Regions from separate parts of the Homo sapiens genome. Here regions 1 and 2 are each linked to region 3. The links are contacts of gene promoters, found by promoter capture Hi-C in human tissues and cell types (Jung and others, 2019). All regions are on one chromosome and are shown on one strand. Each heading gives the region's core, a stretch centred on a gene start or on the middle of the fragment in contact. The rest is flanking DNA. Distances are from core to core; before and after follow the strand shown.

Region 1 (4,231 bases), core at 177-2,676, 1.1 Mb before region 3:
TGCAAATTCTTTGACACTCTTCCCAACAGGAGAGTGATATGCTATATGACACTGACGTATTCTAGGTAAACTTTTTGTTTCCTCCCCCTTTAATCAAGACACACTTAGGACTGCTTTGGTCAATAGGGCATAGCAGAAGTGAATCTATGTAACTTCTGGGACTGAATCATCACAGACCATGCAGTTTCTGCCTTCTGTCACTGCAACATTCACTCTTGGAGTCCTGACTGACCTCTTATGTAAAACATTTCACTATCCTGAGGCTACCATGCTGTGAGGAAGCCCAAGTCACATGAAAAGGCCATGTTTAGGCATTCCAGTAGACCGTCCCAGCTGAGCCTAACCTTTGAATCATTTCTGCCCAGGTGCCAGAAATGGCAAAGAAGCCTCCAGATGATGGTAGCCCCAAGATGAGATACACATAACCCTTCAAGTCTTTCTACTTCAGGCCACAGACATAATGGAGCAGAGACAAGCCATCCACAATGTGCCCTATTCAAATTCTTGATCGACAGGATCCAAGAAAAGACTAAAAGGATGGTTGTTTCACACCACTAAGTTTTGGGGTAGTTTGTTATGCAGATTTGATAACCTGAACAATCAGTGTGATTGTGTGTCTGCTCAGAGAAATCTGTATATTCTTAATGTCACTTTCTCTTTTTCCTTAAACTTAAATATTTTTTCTTGTTACATAATAGTTGTACCTATTTATGGGGTATATGTGAGATTTTGATACAAGTGTACTTCCTTTTTCCTTTTAACACAAACTGAAGCAGACTATGCACCCTGTTATGTACCATATGTTTTACAAGGGAACTATTTTTAAAATGCTTTACTTACAGGTTTGCGAACGTCAGGTAACGTAATCCAGAGAGGAAACACTATGGGGAAAACAATCAGAAACGTGACTTGCTTGCGGGTTTCAGAAGGCCAGGCAAGGCTGAGAGGCTGGTCCTCCTCCTCATCAGCGGTCTGTGGTAGAAAAAGAGGTAAAATTAAACAAACAAAAAAATAAAATGTACACAGGCACAACAACAGGAGCACAGAACAAAGGGGAAGCTCCATGTCTTATCAGTTTTCTGGACTCGTTCCAGTAGCTTCATATGTGTGATTTTGAGATTTGTCACAGTCTGAGTCCTAGGAACAAATAATACATTGTCCAGCCATGAGCATGTAAGAATTTTCTTTTATCTCCTTGAATGCTCTTCAGTTTCTCATGTTCATCAACTGATTATTCAACTGGAGTGGGCTACAACTACAATTCACGAGCTTCTTATAACAAACTATATCTGTGGAGGAAAAGACTTGATGACCACCATCTCCCCATCTTTCCTTCTCCTTGAAGACAGAGTCACAAGCTTTCAGGCTCCTTGGGAAGGAGAGCACTGATAAAAAATATTTCTTTTTCTCTTTTTTTTTTTTTGGAACACTGATTTTCATCAGGCAAATGAAAGTAACCACAGAAACAATTCAGTAATACTACTAAGAGAGATTAACTTCCCACTGGCCTTGGAATAGCTAAGTGCATTGATTTTTGTGTAGTTGTGAGTTTTTTTCTTTCATTGATATTTTACGTATTTCTGGGGTAAATGTATTTTTTACATGCATTGAATGTGTAATGATCAAGTCAGGGTATTTGGGGCCTCCATCACCTTGAGTGTTTATCATTTCTATGTGTGGTAACATTCCAAGCCCTCTCTTCTAGCTTTGGAATATATAGTGTGTTGTTGCTAGCTACGGTCACCCTAGTCTCCTAAGGAACATTAGGACTGATTTCTTCTATCTAACTGTAAGTTTGTACCCATTGACCGACCTCTCTTCATTTCTCCCTGTCACCCCCACACCCTTCTCAGGTTGTGAGTTGGTCACCTGCTTAACCACAGCTAAATTCTAAACCATTGTACTTGCAGCCAAAGACAACTTATGCAAACATATGTCTCAGTCCTCAGAAACAGAAAATACAAGTCAAGCAAGACAGTGAACCTGCACGGGGTGTCGGAGCCAGGGAACAAACTTCAGAGTCTCTGACTTGGCAGCCAATGGCCAGCGTTTTATTTGTCAGCCACTGAAGTCAGTAGCTTCTGAAGTCAGGGCTAGAAGAGATGGAGGGGGAGGGTCTGGGCCCAGCAGGGGGTGACCGTTAGCCTGTCAGCTGAGCCCTCAATACTTCCAAAACAGCACTGTAGACATCATCAATCACTCCCTTCCCTGCTTGTTTGAAAATGAAAGTGCAGCAGTGGACCACGCATCAGATCTAAAAATATCAACAGGAACTTTTCCACTGATGCTTCCTTTTGAGACCATATAAATAACTTTAGAAAGCTCCTACCCCTGGGGCTCTTGCTTCCAGCACCATACACTTTTCAAACAGTAACAGCGCCCCCCTCCAGCACCTGTGTCCCTACAGAGGTGGCATGAGGGGCAGGCTCAGGTCAGCTGGCCTTGAGGAGAGGTCAGGGCTGGGTGAGAGGCCGGGCTCACAGCAATGCTATGTCTTGTTTATTTATCTGGCAAAACTGAGGTACTGCAGAAAGTATGTATAGTGTTTTATACAATCTCTTCAACTCTCCCTAGGAGTTACAATTTGAAATAATAATTTAAAAAAGGGATGCGAAGCCATATTGAAAAGGGTTAGTAACAACAGGTTCTTCTGCTTTGGGTATATGTCCTTGGCAGTGGGTAAAAGAATTTGTAAACAGCAAATATGGTGGAATTAAAGGGATTAGGTATAATAATAATAAGGCAGCATCAGGAAGTTGACAGTTTATTTTGGTACCCTGGATCCTTTTTAAATATACACCTCACACTCCCTATTTCTTTCTATGCAATTCACATATTATTCCATCCATTGCTTTCTTTCTTCCATCCTGAGGGCTCCCATCTTTGGTGGAAGCTTGGTGTGCTGGCTCTGGTCCCTCTTCTATGCCACCTCTGTCTCTTCCTTGTGGATATAGCAGGTGTAGAGAATATCATTCCCTATTGGGCTCACCAGCCTCCCAAGGTGTCAGCTAGCTACGTGAATAATCTTTGTGTCATGGGGCCAATGTGGATTAAGGAGACAGGTATATTTTCCTGTCTGTTCCCTCCCAGATATGATCCTTCTTGTTTAACCCAAATGAATGACTTTCCCCTTACCTCCTGGCAGATGCCCCAGAAATAGGCATGGGAGCCTTGGGGTACTGCATCATTCTTAATAAATACCCCATCTCACATGAGAGATGATTTTTTTTTCTAGCAGAGAGTCAGTCAGCTTCCCTGAAGACCCATCAAGCTGATGAGTTCATTAAGGCTCCTCCCCATTCTGAGATTGATGCCTCCCCCTAGCTCTGTTCATCACTACCATCCACAATCTAGCAACTTTTCTCTCGACTTCAAGCTAACCTTTTTCTGATAAAACACAAAAGCAACTCTTTATGACTCATATCATTTTAATGACACCAACAGATGGTGACATTTCATCAATAACCCTTCTGCTTATAACCTACGGATTAGCTCCTTTCTCCATCTGCCAAAGTCACCAGGCAGGCATTGCCACTAGCAAATAGCAGAAAATAATAATTGTCTGTTTAGATGTATAAGCTCTAAACACACTACTGTCCAATGCAAACAATTAACTATATTGAACAGCTTCCAAAGCTGCATTGGAGGTAGCTGTTGCTAGGGCAGAAATGGACTAGGAGAAGAGACTATGTCTCAGGCTGTGCCAACAGGGCTCTCCATGGAAACTTCACAGCCTCCTGGGGGCCAAGTCCTGCTACAGGGAAGTACAGGAACCTAGAATCCTGGGGTGGATTTGAGAGGTACCCCAGGAGCAAGGCTGTTGGCATACATTAGGTGAAATTATCTTTGCCAAGTAAAGTCTCACTCTGGCTCAATGGGAGGCAGTTTGCAAGCTGGTTAGAGAAGTGGAAGAAAAAAATACTGTTCCAAGTTTGAGGCTTATTTTGTCTTTGTTCAAACTGGATGCTCCAGGGGAGAGGCCACTGAGGTTAGGGCAGTGATTTTCCAACTTTTCCTAGAGTTGTGGTATGCTGGCTTTGACCTTGTGACAACTCACCCTTACCTCCTAAAATTTCTGCAGAGTGTCCATAGAAAACAAAACAAAGCAAAATGGTCCAGAAAGGATTCAAATGGCTTTTGATATGAGGGCTTAAAATAGTTTGATATCTGCTGGGGTCTCTGTAGAAGCCTTAGAATTGTGTAAAGCTTTAGGGCCTTGTAATCTTTGATA
Region 2 (4,248 bases), core at 1,658-4,157, 1.2 Mb before region 3:
TGAACTACAAAGGATATGGAGTTATTGTGCTCCTGTCACTATTGTCTGCTAATATGCTCAGATTAGTACTCATCCCCTCCTCAACATAAGTGAATTTTGCAGTAGAAGCTTCAGAATAGTGTGCGTAATCGCGTATATCAAACATTCCTAATGTTTCCATGGTCCCCTTCAAGTTTTTTAGGTCATGGCATCTTTGAAGATAATCTCAGAAGTGACAGGGCAAGAATTGATAATGAAAATGGATGGATCCATTTTTACTATCAGTAGTTGAGGTAGAGATGACCTTCTTCACAGTCTGTAATATGAGTAGCTTGCTTCAAGCATCTGTAGTTTAAGGACAGGAATGTAATATTAGAAATGTCATATTATGGCTTCTGAAGCTTCTAAAGAAAGTGATACCAAGTGTCACTAGAATCAGCCTTACGTCTTTTTTTTCTCTGTACATCAGTGCATTTCTTAAGTTTTCCTGTCATCTTTAACAACTGAGTCATGAAGCTCACTTTTAGTGTTTCATTTGTAACATTTTAATGCTCACAAACCAAATAAAGGTGAACTGTCCTTTGCTATTGGGTTAAATAGTAAAGAGACCACACCACCTTTTACATTGTTTGTGTCAAGGGTTTTAGACCCCTAACTTACTTAGAAATTAATCTGTTACTTTGTCAAGTGACAAAAGATGAGAGAAGACTCTGCTTTTGTAAATTTTATTTAGAAATTAGAGTTAAAACAGTTATGTATTGTTGAAATGTAATAAAGTTAAGCCATTTTTGTTACTAGTGTGAAGCTTTATGCCCATTAACTATGTTTTAACTTTAATTTGGAATAGAAACCTGCAGGAAGTTACAAAAATAGTACAGAATTCAATGTAGCCTTCACACAGCTTCCTCCAAATGTGACACCTCATATAACTAACTGTAATGTAATATTAAAACCAGGACATTGACATAGTTATATTACTATTAACTAGATGACAGAACTTAATGTCTTCACCATTAAAAAAAATGCATCTGTGTTTTTATGCTATTTGCCCATTGACTTTTAAAACATATTTGTTTTATAGGAGTTTATACAGAGAAATCCTCTTCTTATCATTAGTGTCTCTAGGAAGAGAGAATATTGATATTGGTAAGTTGGTTAATAAAAGATTATGAAAGGAAGTTTTACATTTTATTTTCAAAAGTAATTTTTAAAAATGTAGCTGGTATGTATAAAAGATTTAAAAGATTTCTACTTCTAAATATATAGTTCAAATACATATAATTTGACTCAATACCAATTTGAAATGAACGGCTGTTGTCTTTCTTAACAAATTACAACTTCATTTTTGAAAATTTCTTTCAGAGGCATTTGACAATGAATATGGAATTGCATACAATAGTCTGTCTTCAGAGATTCTTGAAAGGTTGCAGAAAATTGATGCTCCACCAAGTGCCAGTGTCGAGTGGTGCAGGAAGTGTTTTGGAGCGCCTCTCATTTAAATAGAGATTCACTAGAATGTTGACACACAAGGCTTGGGGATTAGATTTCATCTGGAAACATTCAAGTTTTTTTTTCCAAATCGTAAGAACTGGTGAATACGGAATTGAAGTAACTCTTGGGGACAATATATAATGAATTATGATTCATATTGCATTACCTTGAAATATGAAGTGCCATTTGAATGTCCCAGGGCTTATTAATATTGAAGATTTTCAACCCCTGAACTGCTTTTCTGCCTCTGTGGAAAACTACTTTGGGATTCTTCAGTATTTGTAGTAGTTTGATAGAAATAATGAGGAACCATATTCATTCTAGGCATTGTTTATATTTGAAGTTACTGAGTTTGAGGAATGGCAAATTAAATTTGCCTAACCCCCAAAACAAATGAAATATCTCAATTATAAAAGCAACATGGCCGGGCACGGTGGCTCAGGCCTGTAATCCCAGCACTTTGGGAGGCTGAGCAAGGTGGGTGGATCACTTGAGGCCAGGAGTTCGAGACCAGCCTGGCCAACACGGTGAGACCCTGTCTTTACTAAAAATACAAAAATTAGCCAGGCGCACCACTGTAGTCCCAGCTACTCAGGCTGAGGCAGGAGAATCGCTTGAACTGAGGCAGAGGCTACAGTGAGTGGAGATCACGCCACTGCAACTCCAGCTTGGGTGACAGAGTGAGACCGTCTCAAAAAAAAAAAAAAAAAAAAAAGAGAGCAACATATTTGTGTAAGTTTGTATATGTGTAGGGCTGTGTAGGTATGTGTATATACAGCCATATTCTAAGTGTATATTTATTAAAATAGATTGCATGTTGCAATACGGTTTTCTGAAAGGGGTCTCATTGACTATTAAATAAATGACTACTACTAAACTTGTCTGTAGTCATTAATCTTAAAATTACCTGAAAATCTGATGACAGCTGCCTTCCCTAACTTTAATGTATTAGGTTGGCACAAAATTAATTGTAGTTTTTGCCACTATTAATGGCAAAAACCGCAATTATTTTTGTACCAACATAATACACCTTTCATATTATGTATTATCTTGCTTAATGGGTTTTATCTTGATTATCCAGTTACTTCCATCCTCTTCCCAATGTTAATTTGCAATAGTTTTAAAATGGGAACAAATGAATCAATCATCAGATAGTTAAAATGAAATTAAATCAGCTGCCTAATAATTTATGGAATTCATTGGAATGTGCTTAAAATGCTAAAGTGTATGTCATTGAACATGAAATCTTTTTTCAGGCACATACATTGTTGGTATTGATGACTTTTTAAAACCTGTGGGATAAACTTGCACTGCACACGGAAGTTTTATTCTTGTATATTTAGATTTGTATGCTTGTGAGTAAAAATGTGCATTTGTAAATACTGTGTTTTTAGGTTGAATCAATTAAGTCTTAAAACTGTAAATTTATTAAGCTTGTTGCCAGTAGGTTTAAGAAAATCATGATCTCACATGCCTCACTTTGACATTTATCATGCCTTTTATTAAAAATATCCCTTAGGAACAGTAAGTTTGCCTTAACTCTCTGCATGGTTTAAAAAGCCATTGGTTTTGTGTGTGTTTACAGTAATTATGCAGATGACTAAATGAGTTGACACAGTAAAATTACTTCCATATGGTACAGTAACAACCTAACTCCCTTCTACCTGATGTAACCATTTACAAATTATAGTTATTGTACCAGTCTTTCAACATTTCAGGGTTAATCTGACCTATGCAGAATTCTAGTGTGAATTTATTGTGAAAATGCTAAATGAAACAATTTGTCAGAAATTATGTACAATTTTCATTACCTTCAAAATGGATCTTTTGCACTGTCTGAGAGTATATATTTTTGCAACTCAAGACTTGGTACTAGTTTTAATACTTAACACTTACTGACCCAACAGAAGTTTGGAATTACCTTGCATATAAAAATTGAGGTTGAATAAAATGAAAAATTGTTGTTTTCTGTTACATTAAGCCTCTTGAAATCTGTAATCTTTAGAATCCCAATATTTTGTTTTTTCCATTCCTTCACTCGTAACTTGAACTCAAGTTTTCACTTACTGACGCGCTTCCCATTAAAAAAAATCTGTAAAGATCTCTACCTTGAAAACTTTAGTCTGCTGCTGCCATTTAGATATTGGGACTGATTTCTTGTTATAAATTTTTAAAGGCTTTTTCCAATACCCACCACAGAGAGGGTACCACTAAAAATTTACAAGACAAAAACATTATTATGGAAAGATTTAGAAGTACCTGGAATGACTTGTAGCACTGTATGCAACTTTAATCCTGATAACTTCTAAAAGCAATCTTTCAAATTAGTCCAGATTACTCAGCAGTACCTTATATTGGTTTGGGGTTCGATAGCGATTTTTTTTTCTTCCAACGAACGAATTGTACAGGTTGATCACAACCTGCATAGTTAACGACATGTCAGAATGACTTGCGTGTGTGTGGAGAACTGGGTATGGTGGCTCACGCCTGTAGTAATCTCAACACTTTGGGATGCCAAGGCAGGCGGATCACTTGAGCCCAGGAGTTCAAGAGTAGCCTGGGTAACATAGCAAAACTCTACAAAAAGCACAAAAACTAGCCGCAGTGCACACCTGTAGTTCCCAGGCGGTCAAGGCTGCAGTGAGCCATACCACTGCTCGCCATCCGGGGCGTAGGAGTGAAACCCTGTGTCAAAGAAAAAAAAAAATCTAAGGAAAAACAGACTGTCCTTATTTTGTGGCTGCACTCAATTTTCAGAAAGCAGGGCGGTTCTCATGT
Region 3 (4,303 bases), core at 872-3,371:
GCTAACCCCAGAGGACTGGTGAGGGCTGGCTTGGGATGAATAAACACTCGACACCTGACGGTCCTTTCTCTGCGGTGACTTTCACCAAGCCGAAGTGGCGCGCGCGCGGGCAGGCGGGAGCCGGGACCTGGCCCGCGCGGCGCCGCGCACCCGGATCCCGAGGCTACGCCGGCGAGCGCGGCGCGGGGGGCGGGGAGCGGGACAGCGGGACCGCCCGGGCCAAGCGATTGTTTCAAAGACATTTTTTATCAAGACCCTTTTGTATTCGAGCCCTACCTCTTTTTGGCCTAGGAAAGCTTTCGTGCAAGTGGAAGACGACTTTCTCCACAAAGTGCTGTATGTTACTGTGCTCCGGACCGCGTACGAACACCATCCAGTCGTGGGTGAAGCCCTCCACGGTGGGTTTTTTCCTCACCTGGGCGCGGTGCCCCAGCTCCAGCTTCACCTGCACGGCACACTGCGGGCAGGGGGAGGAGAGACAGCCGTGAATAACAGGAAGGCGAGGTTTCGGCAGTGAACGTTGCGCCTGACATTTTTTTCCTCCTTCTTGAAACGCACATAAAAGGAAACGGCGGTGCCCTCTGCATCCACGTTTCACGCGCGTGGGCGCGCACACTCCACACCCCCAAATATACCCGCCCGCCCGGCCCGGCTTGGCCCCAGGCGCCCCGGGCCCCGCATCTACATCGGACAGGATTGTAACGGAATGTTATCCCCAGTCGGGAAGGGGGTCGGGGAAAAGAGGGAGAACACACTCAGCCACGACAAGCACGACAACAAATGCATCGGAAACAAATCAGAAGGCGATGCCGGGGCGGTTTCCCGGCGTGGGAGGGGAGGTGGCTGGGACCCAGGGGGACCGAAGGGCTCCTGGCGAGCCCCCTCCCCGAAAGTACCGCGGCGACAGGCACACGCCGAGGAAGTCTTTGTGTACGTGTGTGTGCGTGCGTGTGGAGCGCTGTGCCAGGCGAAATGGAAACTACAGGCAGCCTCTGCTGATGGGCACAAACTCCCGTGCTCTTGCCACGGGGTTCGTGCACAACAAAAATGAGACGTCGTCATACACACTGAAACACACACACACGCCCGCAGGAAAACACGCCGAGGCATCCATAACTTAGAGCACCCCGCACCCCCCAGCGAAAAGCCCCACGCGATCGGCGAGGCCAGTCGAACCGAGCCCCCGCAACACACTTTCAAGAGCCCAAGTGGCTCCAAAGTATCTCCCACCTCCCCCCAAAAAATGAAATTCAGAAAGGCAGGGCGGCGGGCGGACAGCCGCCGAGCCTCGGCTCGCGCTCAGCACCTCCCGGCGCTGGGGCAAAGTTGCGTGCGGCCCCGCCGCTGTCAGCCCCGCACACTTCGGCTCACACACGCGCGCCGCGGAGAACGCACCATCGTAGCGGCCGCGGCGCTTTGCGGAGGTGCGGCCGCCGAGGCTGCTCGCCGCGTCCCCGGACTGTGCCCGCAGCTCCCGGCGGCGGCGGCTGAAATATGGCTGAGTTATTATTCGCCTCCTTCCACCGTGTGTGTGTGTGTGTGTGAGTGCGCGCGTGTGAGCGAGAGGGAGTGTGTGAGTGCGCTTCTTGTGACTGCAAAGAGGCGAGGAGGGAGGGAGGCGCGGGGGGTGGAGGGGCGAGTGTGAGCGTGTGTGAGTGTGTGTGTGTCTGTGTGTCTGTGTGCGCGCCGGGGGGGGGTGGGGGAGGAGGGGAGCGGAGGCTGAGGGAGAGGCGGCAGCTCCCTGCAAGCCGTACCAACCTTTCTCTAATTGGAACCGCGGAGCGCTGGCGCTGTCTGGGCTGCGGCGGCGCAGGGCGAGGAAGGAAAGTGGGGGAGGGCTTTTATTATTATTTTTGCGCGTACTTACCGAGCTAGCCATGCCTGGGGGCCCGGAGGTTTGCTGGGGTGTTGTGTGGTACCCCCCCCTCCTCCGCCCCCCCTCAGCTGTAATTCATGAAGAGGCTGCTATGAATGAGAGCGCGCCCAGGAGCGGAGGGTAGATGGCGGACATTCTCTGCCTTTTTCCCCCCGCGCTCGCTTGCTCGCTCGCTCGCTTATTAAACTCAGCCCCAAAAGCAAAAGCAGCAGCAGCAGCAGCAGCTCCAGGGTAAAGAAGATGATTGCGGAGCATGCGCCGTGGCGCCTGACACCCGGGCTCCGAGCCTCACAGGGCGGAGGGAGGGCTTGCGGGCGGGGCGGAGCGCGCGGGGAGGCAGAGCGAGCGAGCCAGGGGGAGCTCGAAAGAGCCAATCACCTGCCACCTCCCGAAACCCCGGCGGCCCGCAGCGCCACACTGGAAAGCCTCGCTTAAAGTAACAGGTTCCTGCTGGGGGGGTGGCAGGGAGGGGACGCAGGAGTGGGGAGAGCGGCCAGCTGGGGAGCCATCCCAGCCCCTGTGTAAACTCTGCTCGCCCTACAATAAAAAACGGATTAAAACTGCTGGAATGTAGCCACTGCTTAGAGCCCTCAGCAGCCGGAGAGGGGGTGTTAAATCAAGTCCTTAGCTAGTACGCACGGGGAGGAGGGAGTGGGCTTTCTTTTACTTTCCACCACGTATTTCTGTGGTTTTGTGCTGAAAAGACAAGAACTCACACCCAAACAAACTTACTTAAAGAGAGCGAGAGAAATGCCATCCTGCAAAAAACGAGCATGAAAATAGCAATGACTGAGGCTGTTCTAACCCGCAACGATCCCCTGGCCCCCTGCCCCATCCACTCACAGGCACCCGCCCGCCACCCTCACTCCCCGCCCTTCTGCCACCGCCACCGAAAATTTGAAAATGAAATGAACAAGGGAGAAACAAGGATGCTATTTCCTTGCAAGGGAACGCCTTCCGCTTTGGTAATCCCCGGCTGGGAAGCTTCATAAAGCGGTGCCCAGGTGAAAGCAAGACACCTGGGAGTGCCGGGTACAGACCCTCGGGGACCAGGCTTGGAGTTGTTTTCTTCGGGGGGCTTCCCCTCCTGACAGCCTACTGAGTTGCATCAGAACGTGGAGGATTGTCCTCTGAGGACGCGCGGGGCAACCGGGAGTCTTAAAATAGCAGATAAAGTTAATACTGACTGTAATGTGCGTAAATTGGATTATAATCTTTAGGCGTATTGGTGACAACCAGCGTAATCCATCTCTGAGTATTAATCCGGTTAGACTCCCGGGTGACAGCCAGTCGCAGGAGTGTTCCCAGAGTCGCGCCTCTGCAAATGTTCTCACTCGCGTTGTATTTGATCTCAGTGGCCGGAGATAGAACAGCGCGGCCACGCGTGGGGCGCGGAGAGGAGTATCAACTACTGGCTTCCTTTACAGACGCAGATAACCTTTAAAAAGGAAACGGATAAGATCTAGACGATTGATTTGAAAGTGAAAGATGGATGTGACTTTGGTTCGTTAAAAAAAGATCCTTGCATCTTCCTAGCCCTTAGACCTCTTTTGCCTTCTCTTTACTCCCCTTTTTCCCTCGCCTTCCAACTTCTTGCTGAACCTTGATTTTTCCTTCTCTTCTCCTTGCCTTTCCTCTTTGTCCCTCTTTCTTTCCTCTTTGTCCCTTTCTTTCCTCTTTGTCCCTTTCTTTCCTCTTTGTCCCTCTTCCTCTTTCTGACTGAACTTCCTTGCTTTCCTCTTTTCCCTTTACTTCCCTTTTCCACAAAAGCAAGTTGTCTCGGCCCTTGAATTGAGAAGAGCAGAATAGCGGGGAGGACGTTACCTAGGGCGTCCTGTGTCCTCGCTGTTAATTTTCAGTTCTCCCAGCAGCTCTCACAAAGATCCTGGGAATCAGGTCGGACCACTTGGAACCAACCTTAGTTTCCAAACCAGCAGCCTTCCAACTCAACTTTTGATTCCCTAAAACTGATATTCCGCTGCCTGTCAGTTATAATCAAGAAACTTCTTTGGCTTGAGGTCCCCAGTTCTTCCCAGCCTTCTACAGGATTTAGCATAGAATGGAGCAAACGACTGAAGGTAGAAACATTTTAATCTAAATCCAAGGGCTTAGATTTGTCAACTGACACACATATACATAACTGCATATCATCCTGTAGGTATATGCGTCGCTGTGTCTGTATGTATGTACAAGGACTACGTTTATATTCGCAGAGACAAGCTGTGTGGGTAGTATCTACGTGAAGGGGGGACCTATTTATTGTGCATTATTAAACTTTTCATAAAATAATCAAATTTGAGAGCAGTCCTTTGTAATAATAGTATTGGAAACTAAAGGTTATCTGGACGTGCCATTAGTAAAGCCATTTCTTATTAAGAAGTAACCATTAACAGCGAGTGTAGCTCAGGACACAGGCAAAAAACAACA

Evidence for each region. Contacts are between HindIII fragments. The study calls those that stand out against the background at their distance.
Region 1: a contact is called between a fragment that was not itself captured here and the fragment with the promoter of MLLT3 in region 3, in 1 of the 25 tissues and cell types used here (dorsolateral prefrontal cortex).
Region 2: a fragment that was not itself captured here is called in contact with the fragment with the promoter of MLLT3 in region 3 in 1 of the 25 tissues and cell types used here (dorsolateral prefrontal cortex).

Annotation. Positions count from the first base shown.
Region 1 is chr9:19,549,297-19,553,527 of GRCh38, forward strand. SLC24A2 (solute carrier family 24 member 2) reads right to left here. Exons shown (of 11, transcript NM_020344.4): 8 at 841-972. All of the region lies in intron 4 of LOC105375988 (a long non-coding RNA gene), which reads left to right. Among named protein-coding and RNA genes, the nearest start is that of MAP1LC3BP1, 88 kb to the left of the region's middle. The HindIII fragment of the contact is 4,246 bases long and covers 1-3,549 here.
Region 2 is chr9:19,370,696-19,374,943 of GRCh38, forward strand. DENND4C (DENN domain containing 4C) reads left to right here. Exons shown (of 33, transcript NM_001330640.2): 32 at 1,061-1,125; 33 at 1,342-3,586. The coding sequence ends at 1,478. Among named protein-coding and RNA genes, the nearest start is that of RPS6, 7.4 kb to the right of the region's middle. The HindIII fragment of the contact is 5,326 bases long and covers 245-4,248 here.
Region 3 is chr9:20,620,378-20,624,680 of GRCh38, forward strand. MLLT3 (MLLT3 super elongation complex subunit) reads right to left here and starts at 2,122. Exons shown (of 11, transcript NM_004529.4): 1 at 1,868-2,122; 2 at 277-457. The coding sequence starts at 1,879. RefSeq lists silencers at 71-190, 1,411-1,460, 1,531-1,680, 2,101-2,560, 2,581-2,720 and an enhancer at 351-480. The HindIII fragment of the contact is 4,373 bases long and covers 1-3,811 here.